Linked DNA regions of Homo sapiens: region 1 is linked to region 2. Evidence: promoter capture Hi-C in 16 types of primary human blood cells and fetal thymus (Javierre and others, 2016). All regions are on one chromosome and are shown on one strand. Each heading gives the region's core, a stretch centred on a gene start or on the middle of the fragment in contact. The rest is flanking DNA. Distances are from core to core; before and after follow the strand shown. Region 1 overlaps CLUL1 (clusterin like 1). Region 2 holds the start of USP14 (ubiquitin specific peptidase 14).

Region 1 (2,762 bases), core at 243-2,742, 460 kb before region 2:
ATCTTACATCTTAAAGTGGTTGTTTTTCGGCAGGGTGCAGTGGCTCACACCTGTAATTCCAGCATTTTGGGAGGCTGAGGCGGGTGGATCACCTGATGTCAGGAGTTTGAGAACAGCCTGGCCAACATAGTAAAACCCTGTCTCTGCTAGAAATACAAAAATTAGCTGGTCATGATGGTGGGTGCCTGTAATCCCAGCCACTTCAGAGGCTGAAGCAGGAGAATCGCTTGAACCCAGGAGGCGGAGGTTGCAGTGAGCCAAGATCGTGCCATTGTCCTTTAGCCTGGGCAACAAGAGTAAGACTCTGTCTCAAAAAAAAAAAAAAAGTTGTTTCTCCAAGGCAAGTAACAATACCTCCAGGATTTTCTCAATCAGTCCCAATTTTACATATTCTGCTCATTGTCCTCATAAGCCAAAATCCTAATATTCCCAATTCCAAACTACAGTGGCTGTGTACCCTTGGGCAAATTACTTAATACATATAAGCCTTAGTCTCCTCATTTGCAAATAAGAATAATAGGAATAACAGTATCTACTTCTCAAGGTCTTTGCATTAAATGAGCTAAACAAGCAAGGCATCTATTATTATACCTAGTATCCATTATCATAGGCAAGACATCTGTTATTATAACTAGTCCAGTATAATAACTAGTATCTCTCAGGCTTCCTTCCATTCACTGCCCAGAAGCAGGACAAAAAACAGTTACCAAATCACAGGTCCCAAGTTTTGGAAGTGAAACATTGCCATGGAAGAAGTAGACCTCTGTCTAGTAAACATTCCTAAGGAATATCCTATCGACGCCTTCCGTTTCCTGCTAGACATTGTACCAACTGGCAGATTCACGCTTATAACTCTATTCCTATAGATGACAGTTTATCAAAAGCGCTATATTAACCTGGCATTGAGCCAGGCATGGTGGCTAGTGCCTGTGATCCCAGCTACTCGGGAAGTGAGGCAGGAGGATCCCTTGAGCCCAGGAGTTCAAGACCAGCCTGAGCAACATAGCAAGACCCCATTTCATTAAAAACACATACAAATAAAACCTGATTTGGAGGTCAAGTCACTCTAACCTTCTCTAGGGTTTCCTACTTAATAAGTTTCAGATAGTCTCACTAAATATTAATAAGGAGGGGTGGAGGAAGGGGACAGTGAGGATGCTGGGTCACCACTGAGCAGTACTCTTGAGAATGGGTGGGGCTCAATACTGGGAGACTAGGGTTGCTAACACCATATTTGCCAATTCATAATTTGTCTAAACTGACCTTTATTCTAGGCTTTAAGTAATTTTAGGGAGGGATACTCAGGGTTAAACAGATTTTTTTTTTCCGATTAACTTTCTAATTGAGTGCCTCAAACTTAAGAGTATAATTCAATGAATTTTTGTACAATAAGATTTTTAAGAATAAACAAAAATTCTACTAGTTGCTTGGATTCTTCAGGGCCAGAAGTGAAATCCACATTTGCTTACTTGACCCACCCAAAGTGGAATATTCTTGTTAAAGCTGTATACCCTGTCCTCCTTGCCAGGAGGTTCAGGGAAGTGAGAAAAGCGGAAAATCACTGGGTCCCCCGTGCACACATCTGCTGACTTTATCTCAGTTCATTCATTACAGTGTTGGAGTAACATGTTAATTAACAAACATCTCAAACCCCAGTTTTCTTAGCTATAAAATGAAAGTAGTGGTTTACCCAGATGTTCAAAACATTCCATGTGATAATGTGTTTTGTGAAGAGTGTATGAGTGCTATCTAGTGTCTCTATTCCCAGATGGCCAGGCTCACAAGCCCACCAGGGAAGATCCCAGCTGGAGGGGCTTCCACATTTTCCTGATGAGGAGCTATTTTAGATTTCCTCAAAATCTTTTGATTGCTGCCAAAAGGGAGAAGGGTTTGCAGCTGCTGGTCAGGCATTCTCCTTTCCTTGCCAGAACCCTGACTGACTCAGGGCAGTAGGTGAGGCTGCAACATCAACCAGTCCGGTGACGCTGACACACAGCTTTGGGGTCAGCCTGTCACACTACCCGGCTCCAGTTGCTTAACGGACTCCCAGAGGCCATGATCCTCAGAAGTAAAAAGATGTAAGCAGCAATCTGGAATTCAGTGGCCCCCAACTTTATAGATAGAGGGATAGATAGAAAATATTAGAACTTCCACTTGTATTTTTAAATTAAAAATCTGACTGGGGTGGGGGGAATGGGGCATTGTTTAATATGTATAGACTTTCAGTTTTTGCAAGATGAAAATAATTCTGGAGATTGGTTGCACAACAGTATGAATGTATTTAACACTACTGAACGTTACACTTAAAAATGGTTATGATGGTAAATTTTGTTATATGTATTTTACAACTTAACATTTTTCAAAAAATAAAAATAAATTTAAAAAGTAATTTACTCTCAACATTAAAATTGAAAATATTTTCCAAATTATTTTTGTTACAGTTTTAATTTCCTCTTTGATTTAAGGGTAATGTTTGAAGATAACCTTTTTTAAAAAAGTCATTGTTTTGAGTGTGATGTTAATTATTAATGTCATTAAACTGCAAGCTATTCAATGTCTATAATTTAGAAATTTACTGAACTTTATACTGTGGCATATGAACAATTTTTTACATCTTCCAAAGACATTTGAATATAATATGTATTCTCCATTGATAAAATATGTAATTCAAGCTATAGCTGTTAAATAAAGCTATTTGAATTTGAAAAAGTGATTAGGCTGATGCATTATTGGATATACATGGTACTCTCTTGAGATGCATA
Region 2 (2,700 bases), core at 115-2,614:
AATATGGAGAGGTCAAAGGAAGGGACCTTAGAAATCTACTTGAGTTCCTTCATTTGGGGGATGAGGAAAAGATCTGATTAAATATTTAAGATAAAGCTCAAATTTTAAAAAAGAAACTCTGGTCAGCGCTGGCATTTTGAGGAAACAGAGGGGTTTTGTTTTATGTGTGTGAATCTACTGGTGTGTTTAAGTATTAGAATATTTCAAGAGCCATTCTACTGTTGTTATGGCTTTAGAAAGGGGTTGGGCAATCATTAAGAATTCGATTCAAGATTCTAGACCATCAAGAATCCACCTTGAGATCAAACAATACTCTTGATTCGTATCATGCTTTGTAAATGCTGAATCTTCAATAAAGGAACTGTAACAGAATAAACAGGGATGGTCAACGAATCACACACCTACAGCCAATTGGAGACACCACACATATTTTAGGTGCCATTTTGAATAAGGCTAGGGAGCAGCAAGGTCCATTCCCTAAGTAAAAGTGATCCCTGGCCAGTACCCTGGACTGTCAGCAAGCAAACAATACAAGCCCCTGTCAAACGCCAATCAAGAAATGACACCCCGGGGATATGTGTATTCATCTACTTCTGAAAGCTCACACCACGTTTCGGATACAGAAATCCAATGCAACGTTTGATGAAACGAAAACGAAGCAAAAAGGTTTACAATCTGCCTCGGGACAAAACTAAAACTGGTACCAAAGGGGCGGTCGAACAAAGGCAAGGGGCAAGAGAAGGGCGAAGGACGACGAAGGGCGGCGAACGCCGCTTGGCAACCCCAAGAAGGGTCGCTCCATCCCTCCCCTTCTTCCCCGCTCCCTTCCACGGCGACCACTGAGAAGCCCAAAGGAATCTCCCTGCACCTCCAGCCTGGCCCAGCGCCCCAGGACACACCCTCACTTTCACCGCACACCAGGGCAGCGTCAGAAACTATTCTGCAGAGTCACGACTTTGAGAGGCTTCCCCATCTCCACTCCCCCCACCCATCGGTGGCTCAGGGGGACGGCGCTCCCCTGCCACGCAGGGCTCCGACCCAGCCGGGAGAGGGGACGGTGCCTGGGTCATCTCCGCGCCGCCGGCCCCGCGCACCCCACCCCGGCCCCTCCCAGTCCATGCCGGGTGCCCGCCCGTGCAGGCCAGGCCTACGCGGAGGCCTAGCGCCGGTCCGGTGTGCTGCGCGCGAGGCCAGGACAGGGCTCACCGGAGTAGAGCGGCATGGCGGGGCGCGGCGGGAGGCGGCGGCGCAGGAGAGCTGGGCCTGACGAGGGCGGCAAAGGGACGGGGACCAGGAGCAGCTGCGGCGGCGGCCGAGGCGGAGGCGCGGTGGTGGCGGCGGCTTCGGTGCGACGAGTCTCATTCAAACCGGCCACTGGCGATGACGCAGCAACACGCAAAACACCCGTGCAGCTCCGGAGCGACTGCAGCGAGGAGACTGGGCGGCAGGACCGGGGCGGGGCCTAGAGGTGGCGAGAGGAGGGAGGAGGGGGAAGGCGGTGGAGGGGTGGCGGGAAGGAAGGAGGGAGCAAGTGAGGGACGGGCGCGGGGCCCCATCCACCGCAGCAGGTGCGCGCCTGCGCACTGCCGCCCATCGCCCTGCGCGCACTGGCCACGTGGTCCTGGCGCGGCCCAGCCCTGCGGCAGATGAAGTGGGAACTTGGTATCCCACCTGCTGTCTGAGGCTGAGGCGGGAGAATCGCTTGAGCCCAGGAGGTCGAGGCTGCAGTGAGCTGTGATCGTGCCACCGCACTCCAGCCTGGGCGACAGAGCGAGACCCTGCCTCAAAATAAAATAAATAAAATTAGTGGTTGTAAAGTCAGAGGTGTTTTGAAACCCAGCTGTTACTAGCTAGCTGTATGATGTCTGCAAACCTCAGTTTTCTTTTCACCCACACCTCATTTTATTGCGTTCTATATATATATATTTATATATTTTTATATATTTATATATTTTTATATATTTATATATATTTATATATTTATATATATTTATATATATATATATATAAATTGAAGGTTTGTGGCAACCCTGGGTTAGTAAGTCCATCAGTTCTGTTTTTCTAACAGCATGTGCTCACTTCGTGTCTCTGTGTCACATTTTGGTAATTCTCACAATATTTTGAACTTTTTAAATACTATTATATCTGTTCCAGTGATCTATGATTACTATTTTAGTTGTTTTGGGGTGCCACTAACCACCCCCGTGTAAAACAGCTAACTCCAATGTTTTGTGTATTCTGACTGCTCTGGCAACAAGTCTTTTCCCACAAGGGTTCAAGGCTTGAGTTCAGGACACAACTGCAGGTGTGGTGGCAATAGCAAGAGAACTAGAATTAGAAGTGGAGCCCACAGATGTGACTGAATTGCTGCAATCTCAAGACAAAGCTTTAATGGGCAAGGAGTCGCTTCTTATGGATAAGCAAAGAAAGTGGTTTCTTGAGATGGAAACTACTCCTGGTGAAGACGCTGTGAACACTGTTGAATGACAACAAAGGATTTAGAATATCATAAACTATGGAACTGTTGATAAAACAGCAGCAGAATTTGACAGGATTGACTCTAATTTTGAAAGAAATTCAAATTTGAAAGTTCTTCTGTGGGTAAAATGCTGAACAGCACTGCATGTCACAGGGAAAACTTTCATGAAAGGAAGAGTCAATCGACGTGGCAGATTTCATTATTGTCTTATTTTAAGAAAT

The links. The method cuts DNA at HindIII sites, captures the fragments that hold promoters and counts their contacts. A CHiCAGO score of 5 or more calls a contact.
Region 1: a fragment that was not itself captured here is called in contact with the fragment with the promoter of USP14 in region 2 in 4 of 17 cell types (M1 macrophages, monocytes, total CD4 T cells and 1 more); the score reaches 6.9 in M1 macrophages.

What each region holds. Positions count from the first base shown.
Region 1 is chr18:620,599-623,360 of GRCh38, reverse strand. All of the region lies in intron 4 of CLUL1 (clusterin like 1), which reads right to left. It overlaps LOC105371952 (a long non-coding RNA gene), which reads left to right. Exons shown (of 7, transcript XR_935082.4): 7 at 1-2,709. Among named protein-coding and RNA genes, the nearest start is that of CLUL1, 25 kb to the right of the region's middle. The HindIII fragment of the contact is 4,727 bases long and covers 1-2,762 here.
Region 2 is chr18:157,221-159,920 of GRCh38, reverse strand. It overlaps USP14 (ubiquitin specific peptidase 14), which reads right to left and starts at 1,364. Exons shown (of 16, transcript NM_005151.4): 1 at 1,207-1,364. The coding sequence starts at 1,222. LOC105371951 (a long non-coding RNA gene) reads right to left here. Exons shown (of 4, transcript XR_935081.2): 4 at 1,752-1,778. RefSeq lists silencers at 973-1,152, 1,423-1,692. The HindIII fragment of the contact is 8,571 bases long and covers 1-2,388 here.